Linked DNA regions of Homo sapiens: regions 1, 2, 3 and 5 are each linked to region 4. Evidence: promoter capture Hi-C in 16 types of primary human blood cells and fetal thymus (Javierre and others, 2016). All regions are on one chromosome and are shown on one strand. Each heading gives the region's core, a stretch centred on a gene start or on the middle of the fragment in contact. The rest is flanking DNA. Distances are from core to core; before and after follow the strand shown. Region 1 overlaps LINC02668 (long intergenic non-protein coding RNA 2668). Region 2 has its middle 66 kb from the start of LINC00703. Region 3 overlaps PITRM1 (pitrilysin metallopeptidase 1). Region 4 holds the start of KLF6 (KLF transcription factor 6). Region 5 overlaps LOC105376370 (a long non-coding RNA gene).

The links. The method cuts DNA at HindIII sites, captures the fragments that hold promoters and counts their contacts. A CHiCAGO score of 5 or more calls a contact.
Region 1: a fragment that was not itself captured here is called in contact with the fragment with the promoter of KLF6 in region 4 in 1 of 17 cell types (neutrophils); the score reaches 5.6 in neutrophils.
Region 2: a contact is called between a fragment that was not itself captured here and the fragment with the promoter of KLF6 in region 4, in 1 of 17 cell types (total B cells). The highest score is 5.9, in total B cells.
Region 3: a fragment that was not itself captured here is called in contact with the fragment with the promoter of KLF6 in region 4 in 1 of 17 cell types (neutrophils); the score reaches 5.8 in neutrophils.
Region 5: a contact is called between a fragment that was not itself captured here and the fragment with the promoter of KLF6 in region 4, in 2 of 17 cell types (total B cells and naive B cells). The highest score is 6.8, in total B cells.

Annotation. Positions count from the first base shown.
Region 1 is chr10:3,252,228-3,254,927 of GRCh38, forward strand. All of the region lies in intron 2 of LINC02668 (long intergenic non-protein coding RNA 2668), which reads right to left. It overlaps LOC105376353 (mucin-5AC-like), which reads left to right. Exons shown (of 3, transcript NR_164119.1): 3 at 1-1,127. Among named protein-coding and RNA genes, the nearest start is that of LINC02668, 3.9 kb to the right of the region's middle. The HindIII fragment of the contact is 4,547 bases long and covers 1-2,700 here.
Region 2 is chr10:4,316,402-4,319,101 of GRCh38, forward strand. No RefSeq gene overlaps it. Among named protein-coding and RNA genes, the nearest start is that of LINC00703, 66 kb to the right of the region's middle. The HindIII fragment of the contact is 1,051 bases long and covers 849-1,899 here.
Region 3 is chr10:3,167,125-3,169,824 of GRCh38, forward strand. All of the region lies in intron 2 of PITRM1 (pitrilysin metallopeptidase 1), which reads right to left. Among named protein-coding and RNA genes, the nearest start is that of PITRM1, 4.3 kb to the right of the region's middle. RefSeq lists an enhancer at 2,274-2,323. The HindIII fragment of the contact is 3,737 bases long and covers 1-2,700 here.
Region 4 is chr10:3,783,923-3,786,622 of GRCh38, forward strand. KLF6 (KLF transcription factor 6) reads right to left here and starts at 1,287. Exons shown (of 4, transcript NM_001300.6): 1 at 991-1,287. The coding sequence starts at 1,092. RefSeq lists enhancers at 1-108, 109-665, 666-1,221, silencers at 827-1,426, 1,677-1,956, 2,137-2,196 and a promoter at 1,088-2,025. The HindIII fragment of the contact is 8,520 bases long and covers 95-2,700 here.
Region 5 is chr10:4,335,842-4,338,747 of GRCh38, forward strand. LOC105376370 (a long non-coding RNA gene) reads left to right here. Exons shown (of 3, transcript XR_930589.3): 3 at 523-974. Among named protein-coding and RNA genes, the nearest start is that of LINC00703, 47 kb to the right of the region's middle. The HindIII fragment of the contact is 5,347 bases long and covers 1-2,906 here.

The DNA of each region.
Region 1 (2,700 bases), core at 13-2,512, 530 kb before region 4:
CCACTGCAGGAACAGCGCAGATTCCCTCATCTACAGCACAGCACCCACTGAGGGACAGTGCAGATTCCCACATCTACAGCACAGCACCCACTGCAGGAACAGCACAGATTCCCACATCTACAGTACGGCACCCACTGCAGGAACAGTACAGATTCCCACATCTACAGTACGGCACCCACTGCAGGAACAGCGCAGATTCCCTCATCTACAGCACAGCACCCACTGAGGGACAGTGCAGATTCCCACATCTACAGCACAGCACCCACTGCAGGAACAGCACAGATTCCCACATCTACAGTACGGCACCCACTGCAGGAACAGTGCAGATTCCCACATCTACAGTACGGCACCCACTGCAGGAACAGCGCAGATTCCCTCATCTACAGCACAGCACCCACTGAGGGACAGTGCAGATTCCCACATCTACAGTGCAGCACCCACTGCAGGAACAGTGCAGATTCCCACATCTACAGCACAGCACACACTGCAGGAACAGTGCAGTTTCCCTTGCGTCGCCCAGCATATGCAATCCCCACTGCACGGAAGTCACCTGCACAACGCTGGAGTTGCCAACGGTTTGTGTTTCTAAGTTCCACTTGGGAGTTAGATCTCATCTTTAATAATAATAGTTAAATCCTTGTTTCGTTCAAGTTTAAATGTGTATAAACTCTGAAATTCTATTTTTACAGATAGCTACAAAAGCTCACAAAATATATCACTTCAAATCCCTACATGTTATGTCTCCTGGGCATACAAACTACATTGATGGTAATGAACTACCAGAGTTTAAATCTTATGTTTCTTCTAAATAATGAACTCCTGTTTGTCAACCTGTATTTTCACTTTTTTCTATACTCCTGTGCAGTGTATTTAAAGAAAGAAATATGGAAAATAGTGAAAGACATAGAAAAGAGTGGTCTATCACCAACCTTCCCCCTTCCTCTCTTGTATATTGGAAATCTCCATCTATGTAGCCCAATTACATCTCTTCATTAGTCTGATTTGGTGTTACTCACTTTTAAAATATAGTTGTTTGCAAAGTCTGAAAATTATCTTGAAAAATGCAAATTTTTTAATGTGTACAATTCTATTTGTGCTAAATAAATTTAGACCTTTCTTATATTCAACATTATTGTTGGAATTCTGTCCTCAAAATCTTCCTTCAAAAACAGTTTTTCTGTGCATTTCCACTGAAAGTACCCTCACCGCTCCTCAGGCTGAGCTCAGTCATTCTGCACTTGGAAATCTTAGCCGATAGATTAAGAGAGGTTTAACCAAAATGTACATATGACTGAACAAATTTTCCCATCACAGTAAGAATGTTTATCAACCTTTATTAAAAATAGTAGTGTCTAAAATAGTGAACCTAAGGTAATGATGCTTTTACATGCACCATGATCTTTCAGCCAAAAAATATTTTCACATGAATGACAACTTGGTTAACAATACCTGTAGTGTATTCTTTTCTTTTAAAGTTATTTTAAGGAGAGTTTGTGATCTGATTTCATATTTGTATCAGTTGATAATTTGGGAAAATCGCTTTAACATTTGGGATTCACCTGATATGGAAGACTTGTAACTTCTCATTTAAGAGTTGCTGGTCTCTTTCCTTATGAACACAACATCATGCTGTAGAGTGAGAGTGAATGGTAGGGGTAAATCCGCCCCTCCACTCATCCACCCACTCATCCAGACATCTACCCACCCATCCACCTATCCATCTATCAATCCGTCCACCCATCTACCCACCTATCCAACCATCCATCTATTCCCCCATCCGCCCCTCCACTCATCCACCCACTCATCCACACACCTACCCACCCATCTACCTATCCATCTATCAATCCATCCACTCATCTACCCACCTATCCAACCATCCACCTATTCCCCCATCCACCCCTCCACTCATCCACCCACTCATCTACACACTTACCCACCCATCCACCTATCCATCTATCAATCCATCCACCCATCTGCGCACCTATCCAACCATCCATCTATTCCCCCATCCGCCCCTCCACTCATCCACCCACTCATCCACACATCTACCCACCCATCCACCTATCCATCTATCATTCCATCCACCCACCTACCCACCTATCCAACCATCCACCTATTCCCCCATCCACCCCTCCACTCATCCACCCACTTATCCACACACCTACCCTCCCATCCACCTATCCATCTATCAATCCATCCCCCCATCTACCCACCTATCCAACCATCCACCTATTCCCCCATCCGCCCCTCCACTCACCCACCCACCCACTCATCCATCTGTTGGTCCATCATCTTCCTATCTATTAATCTACCCATGGACCAAGCTCTTCAACTTTTTTTCAACACTGCAGAGGATTTTGCTTATTTTTTCATTTAAAAATATAACCTAAAAGAGAAATAGCAGAGAAGTGCTGAAGGTTAGAGAGCTAGAATCAGAATCAAAGTCTCTGAGCACAACCAGCCCATTTTTCATCAAGTCTAATAAAATAATTTGAGTACTTCTGCTTTCCTGAAATAAACAAAAATTTGATTTTCAACAAGCTACATGTTGATAATAAAGTTCATAAATCCTCTTCCACATTAAAAGGACACAATTTGAAATGGAGACACAATGGTCAGCTCTTAGCTATCTACATACCGAAGATTTATTTCCAAGACCCGTAAAAGAGCGGCACCCTTTGGCTCTTGCAAACACAGATG
Region 2 (2,700 bases), core at 124-2,623, 530 kb after region 4:
GGATTAGATAGTGCAGCCAGTATGTGGCTACTTGGAAAGGGTGGGTGGGCGAAGGAAGAAAAAAAAAAGATATTTGTTATAATATTGGTGCATGTAATATTGATGGGAATAGAACCAAACAGAAACTAGTGACTCGGTGTCATGCAGGAGGCTCCTGACCAACAGTGTTCTGTGGATGTGTTTTTATCAAAGCAGGCACTGGGGGAAGTGGTCCAGCCGCGGAATGCCATCGTCATCTGATCACCCTGCGCTTCTGAGTCAGTGGGCCTGGCAGAACCAAGGGCACTTCAGAGAGTCTTATTGGAACAGTAAGTTTCCATGTGTCCAGATGACATCACCCTCAGCAGGCCTGAAGGGAAGGAATGGGCCAGAGAGTAGCCCGCAAAAAGATTTGTTTGATTTCCAACAGGAGCCCCAAAATTGGGCATTTATTTCAGGGCTTAAAAAATAATAGCATTGAAATAATAAGTAGGTGGTAGGATGACAATTTTAGAGACCCTGATGCCTTTTTTGTGAATAACTTTAAGAGTGCTGTCCTTTTGTTTTTCTTGGCTGCCAATATTAGCATAGGAAGTACACAAAACTGGAGGGGGACTCCATCTTGCTGTGAATATAGAATTGTGGACAGGTATTTGTTGGGGAAAGCTGTTGATGCCCAAAGAGAGGAGCCTAGAAATAAAAGTCACATTTCTCTTTAAAGCTTTTCCTCTGCCTATGAGCCAGCTCTCCTCATTCAGACAACCAGGTGGTTCTCAGAGAGATAACTATGGCTGCATCTAAAGCTCTGGCATGTTTCGTTGAATATACTTTTTCCAGTGCCTCTCCTTTCCCTTTTATGCCCATTTCAAAGCTTTCCTCATTTATACATCAAATCTTCATAGCCTTCACAGTCATACTTCTACACAATACAGAATTTGCTTAATACATATTTTCCCCAAAAAACACTTTTTTAAAATGAAAATTTTCATTGAGGTTATGAGATATACCCTGAAAGGAAATACAATATAGGTCATGGTTGAATAAATTTTTGCAAACTAAACACACAGCATTAATTAGCACCCATGTTAAGATACAAAATACTAACAGCACCTTCGAAGCCCTTTTGTTCCCCTCCCAGTCATTAACTCCAGCCTGTATCCTGACTTCACTACCATGGATTGATTCTGCTTGCTTTTGAACTTCACATGAGTGGAATCCTATCTAGCACATGTACTCTGTTGCGCCTGGCTTTCTTTTCTCAATAGAACTTTTACAAAATTCTCTTGTGTTGTGGTGTGCATTTATTCATTCTCATGGTTACAGAGTATTATATGAATATGATACATTTGGGCTGTTTACTGTCTTTGAATATTATAAATAGTGTAGCTATGCACATTCTCATGGTTGTTTTATGGTGAACAAATGCACACATTTCTGTTGCACACAAATCTACACCTAAAAGTGAAATGTTACACTTAATTCACCTCAGTACATATGGCTAAATAACTTTCTACAGTCCTGTCACCCATATATGAGAGTGCCAGGAGCTCCACAATTTTGCCCACACTTGGTATTGTCTACTTTTTCTATATTTGCCATTCTTGTTAGTGAGTCAATAGTTATTTGCCTTCTAATATATTTCCTAAAATAAATTGATCTCTAATGGTAAAATAATGAGCCCAAGATTAGATCTCTCCTAGAAATTTTGTGTTGCAAGTGATTTAATAAAATTAACTCAAGAAATGCCACAAACAAAGCAAACAGGAAGAGGCAAACACAAATTATTTAACAATTTTAAAGCAATAAATATATGTCAACAAGTAGTTCACTAAATTTTATCTCATCCCACTCCATAAAGTCATTCACTATGATTTAAACATCAGAGAAATTTTTGTTTTTTCAGACGAGCCCCAAACATAAAGCTTAGGCCTCCTCCATCAAGCTCTAATTCTTGATGTATCCATTATGATGCAACCTAGGAACCATTAAAAGGGGTTGGACCTGATGGTGATTGCCTAATTCTGATTTTGGATTCAAGTCATATAAGATACGTAATTCAACAATAAAAGAATCAATCCCAAGAAGCCACTTGTTAGATATCTATGTACGAAGCTGATACTTTATTTTGTGAGCTGAATAATGATATTAAGTTTCCCTTTTATTTACTATCAATAAATTTCTCCCTCCAAATCAGTGAGTGCACTCAAGACTCCACATTTGTGCTTAAAAAAAGGCAGAGGCTAAATTCCAAATTATCAGCAGGAAAACCATGGTTAGTTAGAGTATTTTATTCTGTGACGCAGAATTTACTTGTGCAATGGAGCAATAAAGAGTCAGATAAAAATATAAATGGGGAATAGAGAAGAATGAGTGTTTATCTGTTTTTATGTCTTAAAAAATTCTTCCAAAGAAAGGAAGAAAATGATGTAAAATTTGTGTTTCTTGCTTCTCGTATCCTAAGTCTCTTTATTAGAAGAAACACCAAGTAAAAGGCATAGAATAGCAGATTATTTTCAAAATGCATTTATTCTCAAAAGATATTTTTTCTTCCCTATTATCAATAAAATTCAGCAATTGCTCGGACCCTGTATTTCCTCAGTATATTTTAACTTTTCCCCATGAATATGAGTTAGTTTAAAAAATCCTTGAATCCGCTCCAATTACAGACTTCCCCAGCATTGCTTTTTTAAATGGTTTACATGGCTAAGTGTATTTGTTTGA
Region 3 (2,700 bases), core at 165-2,664, 620 kb before region 4:
TGGCTTTTCTGCCTGAAATTAGATGATGCCGGGAAGGCAGTATTTCAGAGCTGGAGAGAAGAGAACCATCTTGTCCAGGTCCCTTATCCTACAAACAAGGAAAGACAGACCTAAAAAAGGCAGATGAGAATATGTGTGTGTGTGTATAGAAAGAGAGAGAGAGCGAGCGAGCGAGCGAGCGCGAGAGCGCACGCGCTTACTACTGGCTAGGTATTTTAGATTTTTTTATTTTTTAAATTTTTTATTCTTTTTTTGGCTAGGCATTTTCTAATCATGTCACATATAATCCTGTGAGGGAGGTATTCTCATACTCATTTACAGACGAAAAAACCGAGGCTCAGGGTGATGAAATAAGCTGCCTAAATCACAGAGCCAGGATTCACCCTGGTGTCTGCCCTTCCCATGGTACCATGCTGCACCTAAGTAACAGAGCGCCCTTTCCAATGTCTGCTGAGTGTCTCCTGCTTTTGTGTGCTGTGCCTCAGTAACACAGCGCCCCTTCCAATGTCTGCTGAGTGTCTCCTGCTTTTGTGTGCTGCGCCTCAGTAACACAGCACCCCTTCCAACGTTGGCTGTGTGTCTGTTTCTGTGCATATCATCTCCTGTAGTGCGCAGAACGGGCCTGCAAGGAGGGGAAATGCTAGAGTGGGCTAGCCTGCGACAGCAGGGAGAGGCTCTAGGATCAGCCTTTGCTTCTCTTAGTTTAGGATGGGTTCTCGGTGGTAGCTAGAAGCACAAAGCTGTGGCTTCCAGAACAGCTGGAGGGGCCGGGAGGATAGAAATGCCCACAAGACAGACGAAAGACTCCCCACTCCTGGGGCGGCGTGGAAGGTCATCTCCTACTTTAGGTAAGCCTCCTGGTAAGTGACCATACTCCTCGGTATGAAAGAAACTGTCTTCTCTTCCAGTCATGCCAGCCGGCCCTCTCCCTCAATCACACACCACGTCCCTGTGATCACCACACCACTCACCACCCCCTCCTGCCAGGTGCCATGAGTCACCTGGCCAAGCGCACACAGTAAGTCGCTGGCCAAGGTCAGACCTCGGGTCTCCTCAGCCCAATCTAGGGAGCCTGCCACGCAACAGTCATGCATAAAGCAGACCACTATGACCTGCATCATCTACCGCCGCGAAATTACTTCTGTTTCCAAGCTCACTGTACTTTGTAACAGATGATCAATGCTTTTGAAGTCAGCAGATACAGTGAGATGTTTGCTTTCTAATAATATATAGCTTTAATAATAATAGCTTTCATGGTAGCTATTTCTCAAACAAGAATCATGACTTATCGTAAGTTTCTATGGCTGGACACAGTGGCTCACACCTATAATCCCAGCACTTTGGAAGGCCAAGGTGATATGGTTTGGCTGTGTCCCCACCCAAATCTCATCTTGAATTGTAGTTTCCATAATCCCCACATGTTGTGGGAGGGACCTGGTGGGAGGTAATTGAATCAAGAGGGCGGTTTCCTCCATGTTATTCTCGTGACAGTGAGCACGTTCTCATGAGAGCTGACGGTTTTATAAGGGGCTTCCCCCTTCACTTGATCCTCATTCTCTCCCCTGCCGCCCTGTGAAGAGATGCCTTCCACCACGATTGTGTTTCCTGAGGCCTCCCCAGCCATGCAGAACTGTGAGTCAATTAAACCTCTTCACTTTTTAGCTCATACTTTATAAATTACCCAGTCTTGGGTATTTCTTCATAGCAGTGTGAGACTAGACTAATACACAAGCAAAAGGATTGCTTGAACCCAGGAGTTTGAGACCAGTCTAGGCAACAAAGTTTCCATCTACACACACACACACACACACACACACACACACACACACACACACACACACAATTAGCCAGGCGTGGTGGCACCTTGTCCCAGCTACTTGGCAAGAGGATCGCTTGAGCCCAGGAGTTCGAGGCTGCAGTGAGCCAAGATCATACCACCACACTCCAGCCTGGGCGACAGGGTGAGTCCCAGTCTCAAAAGTAAATACGTTTCTATAAAATTTGAGAAATAAAGGAGGAGAATCTACCGCTGTGGGTGAGGCCCTTATTAACAGTAACCTGTACCATAAACCCAAGTGTCTTTGCCTGGCCTTTGCAGGATTTCACAAACGCTCCAAGTCTTTTCATGAGTCCCATGCCTGGACCTTGTCTGGCGCACCCTAGTCACTGCCCTGGCTCCCTTGCTGGAGCCCTGACCGAAGGCAGCCACGTTCTCACACCACCCTCTCCAGGAGCTCTTCCCTCTGCCCCCAGCAGCAGCAGCTCCCACTCCTCCTCCTGCCCTTGTCCTTGGCCCTCCGCGTGGCGTCCACCATGTGCCTCCGGTCACAGCCGCAGCAGTCTTTCTAGACAGTAAGCTGTTTGTCTTTCACGTTTGCTATAACATCAAGCATAGCACAAAGCCAACAGCTGGCCAAATACATGAAGCGTGTCATTTTCAGTTACCATGCTAAATAGAAACAATGCAAAAGGTTTAGGCAAAATAACAAAACAAAAACCAAATGAATCTATTTTAATACAGACCCAAGTAAGTACAGGTCCACAATTGCTTCTTTATCATTCTGAAACCCGAATGGCTCAGAAAACTGAAAGGTTCTGCGGACGTTTAGAGCAAGCTATTTGATGGCAAAACCTGACTAAACAGATCAGGGCAGTGAGTCTTCATGCTCATGCTCAGTGAAACATCAGGTTTGGCTGCAG
Region 4 (2,700 bases), core at 37-2,536:
AAACAGGAGGGGGAGGGGGAAAAGGCAGGAGAGGACTGTGAACAATTAAGCAGGCGTGTGAAGGTTGCAACACCCTGCATTTCATCTTCCTTAAAGCTTTCGAGGCTTGGAAACCCACAGCCTCTATTTGATCTGGCAATTCACTTTGTGACGAAAAACAAACAGCACAGCAGGGCAGGGAGACAACAGTAAACCCTCCTGCGATCGCTGGAGAGACAATGGGAGGAGTGTCAGTCTCTCTCCCCTCGGGCGATGCTACCTATAAGCACGGGGACCTGGTAAGTTTCTTAAATTTCCAATGCCCCCAAATTCCAGTTCTACGACAATGTCGGAAACCGAGGTCCTTCTTTCCAAACTAAGACTTGAAGCAGTTTGGACGGGCTCATTGTCACAAGACTGACAAGTCACTGGGGTGTACACAGTTTTATTTTTATTTTTCTTGGTCAACAAGAGAAGCAGGGAAGACAAATAAGGCAGATCTAGGGGAAATGTTAGGCATTCCAAAGAGCAGAAAACACATTGGAAATGGTCTACAGTTTAAAAAAGACAAAAATAAAAGAGAGCTGGTCTACGTTCTGGGGGCAAAATGTGATTTTTTTAAAAAACTGTTAAGTACAAGCACCAAGAAACAAAACAAAAACAAAATCCGTTAAAAAAAAACAACAAAAAACAAACAAACAAAAAAAAAACACCTTGGCAGGCAGAGCAAGTTGGTCCCCATGACAAGCTCCAGCTGTGGCGTCTGGAGCGGGGACAGGCTCCGAACTCGTGCCAGGGGCTCGGCCGGGCTGTGCCGGGAGTTGGGGCTTCCCTGGGCGGACGCTGATCGCAGCCTGGAGGATCGATCGGCGGGGGCGCTGCGCCCGCTCCCCCGGTGACAGCGCGGGGCCCAGGCCCAGCGGACCGCAGAGAGCACCGGGTCTGAACCCCAAACAGCCGACCCGGCCCGCGCCCCGGCGCCCGCAGGGAACCGCGGCCGGCTGCGTTTACCTGTTGCCAGTACTCCTCCAGAGACGGCAGCGCCGAGAAGTAGCCGGTCTCGTGCACGATCTGGAGCTCCTGGAAGATGCTGCACATGGGGAGCACGTCCATGTCGGGCCGGGTTGGACGGAGCCCGCGGTCGCGAGGGCGGCGAGGCGCGCGGTGGGAGCCGGAGCCGAAAGTCTCCCCGGAGCGCAGGTGAAAGTTTCATGCAAACTCCAGGCTCGCAGAGACGCCCGGCCGGACCCTCCCGCAGCCCGCAGCGCGCGGAGCCCACACAATATTTGCAAACACCGGACTGACTGCAAACGTAACCCCTGCAAAACTTCCCTATTCAAAGCTCCGCTGCCAGCCTCCCCCTCCGCCCCCGCCTGGCTCCCCCCACTCCCCCTCCCCCCACGTGACTCGCCCCGCGCCCGCCCCGTGCGCGGCCCAATCCCGTGGCTCCCGGCCCGGGGGCTGCGCGCCGATGATGTCAGCTCCGGCCAATCGCAGGCGGCGACACACAGCGGCCCCGCCTGGCGTGACCGAGACTCTCCATCACGGCCCGCACCATTGGCTCAATTCGAACTCTGCTCGTTCTGATTGGAAAGTGGCCTCGCAGGCTATTTTTAGCAGGGTATATAAGGCGCGGGCGGCCGCGCGCCGGAGGAGTCCGCGCTGTGAGGTGCGCGGCCGAGCCCTGCACTGCGCCCGCGGCCGGAGCTAAGGGAGCCGGGGCTGGGAGAGCCGGGGCGGGCCGCGTCGCCTGTCCCCAGTCCCGGTCTCTCTTCCCCGCTGCCCGGTCCCGCCACCCCACGCCCGTCCCGGTCACCAAGCCGGGCCCTGTCGCCGCGCGAGCCCCGGTTCCGGCAGCTCACCCTGCGGGCGGCCGTCCGGTCCCGGGGCCGCCCGGTTCCCCCCCGTCCCCTTCTATGCCCGAGGCCGCCCCGTCCCCAACTGTCCCCTTCTACGCCGGGGGCTTCCCGGTCGCCAACTGTCCCCTTCTATGCCCGGGGCCGCCCCGTCCCCAACTGTCCTCTTCTGCGCCGCTCTGTTTCCCTACATCCCCCTAGTCATCCTCTGTTCTCTAACCTTGGGGTACCCCTCTCTGTCCTCCTCCACCTCCGGGTCCCTCTCTGTCCCCCTCCATCCCTGAGCCCGTCTCCGTCCCCCTCCAGTCCTAGGGTCCCCTCTGTCCTCCGGGCCACCAGAGTGGGGGAGGGGAGCACGCAGGCTCCCCTTGGAATTGGGAGAAACGTGTTTATCTTGTAGAGGGCGATCTTAGCCCTCACCAAGGTTAACAGCTAGGTTTTCCCATGAACGTGTAAACAATTTAGGTGCAAGCCGACATTTAGTGTGTGTGTTTTTTTCCATATAAATTATCTCCTAAAATATACCGTAATGTTCATTTTTAAGAAAAATGTCGAGACTCGAACCAGAGCATTTTAAAATCCAAAATGGAAAACTGAATTGTAACTGTATTATAGTTTTTGTTTCAAAATAGTTTAATGAACATTAAACATTTTGAAAGAATGGACTATGTAAAAAAAAATTAGAGGGTTTTGTATGTTAAGTTTTAGAGGGTCCGGCAGAAGCATGTGGCTGTAAGACTAGGTGGGGACCTTAGTGAGTCTGGAGTGGAGAAAGGAGGTTTGTCTTGTACCTGCGGTATGTGGGCGGTGAAGGTTATGCAGAGTGAATTGACAGTGTTCTTGGCTCGTGTTCATCACATTTACC
Region 5 (2,906 bases), core at 30-2,529, 550 kb after region 4:
TTCTTTGTCTCTCCCTTCTCAATATAATCAAAATTTAAAAATGAATAAAGCCAAGACAAAACAAACAAGGTAGCAAAACACCCCATACTATTATTCAAAGGATCTTAAAAATGTGAAACAATGACCCACTCTATGCCATTTACTTGACTATTTTAAACAGAAAACAAAATGTAGAAATGTAGAAATGAACAAAAATGGAACCTGAGGAACAATGACAGTGTTTTAAATTATTTCCATGAAAGTCCATGCTTTTATTTTTAGGCAATCCTCTTATGTACGCAATCACTGATTATTAATGATTTCCATAAGCACAATTCTTCCAAAAATCTTATCATAAAATATTTCTAACATAAAAGCTGAAAAAATTGCAGAGTGAACACTTGTGTACACTCCACCAGGATTTTATAATTAACATTTATTATCTGTTTTGTTTCATATTTATCTTATTTTCATTCCTCTGTCTAGAAATCAATCTATTATAAATACAATTTTAATCAGTTGATTTATCTTACTTTCCATCAGCAGAAATTTGGAAGCAATTAATTTGGAGGAGGAAAGAGTCTAAGTAAGATGCCTAACAGATCTTGGTGCGTTGACAACCTTGAAACTTGATGTTAATGGACAGGTACAAAGATGAAGATGAGCTGAACAGTCTTAGTGGTTGAAGCTGCTGCATGTAAGATAAGCATGTTAAATCCATGCCATGTATACTGCAAATCCCAATCCTGTGCACAAAGCAGGCATTGCTAAGAAGACCCTGCTGTATTTAAAAAGCCTAGATGCACTGATAGAACCCTCAACACAGGACTCCAGCCATGGACTACCATTGGTTCAGAGCTGCCAGTCCAGTAGTAGCTTATGCATCACCTACGGTAGAGTGGAAACTCTCCTGCACACGCCAGTCACTCCAAGGGCACTTTAATTAAAACCACACAAAATTTTTGTAGATAACAATAAACTTGATTATGGATAAATCATGAAATCAATAAATATAGAGTTCCTGGTACTCACCACCACCACCCCTTCTCTAATTTTTTTTCAAATTCAGGTAATCTCTATACCTTTTGCTTAAAAAAGAAAAGACAAGAAAATAAAATTTTACCTTACAATTCTAACCATCCTGAAAAGTTTTTGTGGCCTGGGTTAGACATGGGAAGGGGTTAGGAAGTTCTCAGTAAGAACAAAAGAAGCAATTATGCAGGTCAATATACAATGCATTGATGACCTAGGTGTGTGGTGGATGTAGGAGATGGAATTCAGCCAGGTGCATATTTTCCTGTAAGAGCCTCGAATGAGTGTGGGATGAATAAGAGGATGAAGGAATGGTATATGTACACACACAGCAATTTCTCAATAATGGATTTTGCAGACATAAATGTCATCTAGCTTTTATCGTTTGGTATAAAATCTCAAAGGCCTTAGCAAAACAATAAACTTCAATTAGCTTGATTGTGAATTTTTATGATTTCTTAATCTATTAACTTCTCATTGCTAATGTTACGGCAGTAATTTTGGAATAACCTGAGCAATAAATGCCATGATTAAGGGAGAAGGCAGGGAGGGGGGGTTAATATATTTTTAAATGGCTACTAGGAAAATAAAAGTTAACTTTTAAAAAAAGTTCTAACATATTAGTGGTGAACTTCATTTATCTAGAAGATTCCTGGAAATGAACTAGCTCATTCTCCAATAAATCATATGTGAGGCATTACCTACTATATATGCAGAGCAATATATTTTGTGACCTGCTGACTTTTTGAGTGAAGTAAAAATATTGCTTTTAATTCATCCTAATTGTAATGAGCTAAATCAATTTGCCTTTTGAGTCCTGCTGACAGCATAGAAATGTGGTGGTGACGGGGAAGAAACAGGAACCAGGGCAGCCAGGCCTGGTGGGTGTCTGGATTCTGCATATGGAACTTGCCTCCTTGCACTGTTTGTGTAGCTGGGCCACTGAAAATAGAGGATTTCCCTTTCTGAGATCCCTGAGGCCAACAGGAAGATCATATTACTGAGCAGTGTGCCATAAGAACTTTACCCTGTGAGGTTCAAAGGCACCATAAAGTTCACACTGGCTTCCACAGATATTTCTACTGATTTCTATTCCGTTTATGGTGAAACTAAAACTGTCACATCTTAAAGGTGACCCCCAGCAAGCAGGTGGTGTTTGAGACAGTGGCACCTTGTTGCAGCTTCTGTTCCTCAGGGTGGAGCATGAATACAATGCAATATCCCCATGCATGTGGATCAAATAATGAAGCAGCTAAACATGTGAAGGCACACTTAGGTCAGTACCTGCCAGACACAGACAGAGAGCAGGTTCAGGTCAATGGAGCACAGCTGAAGCTGGGTCCGGATGGGATGGGTCTAAGTAGAAATAAAGTTTCAAAGGATGGAAAGCCTTTAAACACTTAAAATGGTGCCATGGATGAATACAAATTATTTCCCTAAAAGCTCTCTGGACTCCATCCCTATCGTCATAAATTTTTCGGATGAAGCACCTATAGGCAGGCTGCTGCAGAAACAAATGATAATTACGTGTTTCTAAAATCACATTTTGGCAGTAGGGTCATTTGAGAAGGGCTGCCAGTCCTTTTGCAGCACAGGAAAAACAAAGCTACTGTGAAGACACTAGCTTCATAATCTATGCACTAAACTCACTAGGAAAGTGTAGCGTGTGTGTGTGTGTGCACACACGCGCGTGCTTGTGTGTAGATTTCTATGTATATCACTTTTTGCAGATTCATATCTGGCAGCAATTGTGCAGATTTGGTTGTTAAGCATGAGTTGAAGCCAATTTGGTCAAGTAATTAGTGTTCTGCCCTTTCTAATTAGCTGATTTAAGGTTGCATAACAGATTAATTTTAAATTAATGTTAATGCTGCTATGCTCAAGGTTAAAAGAAG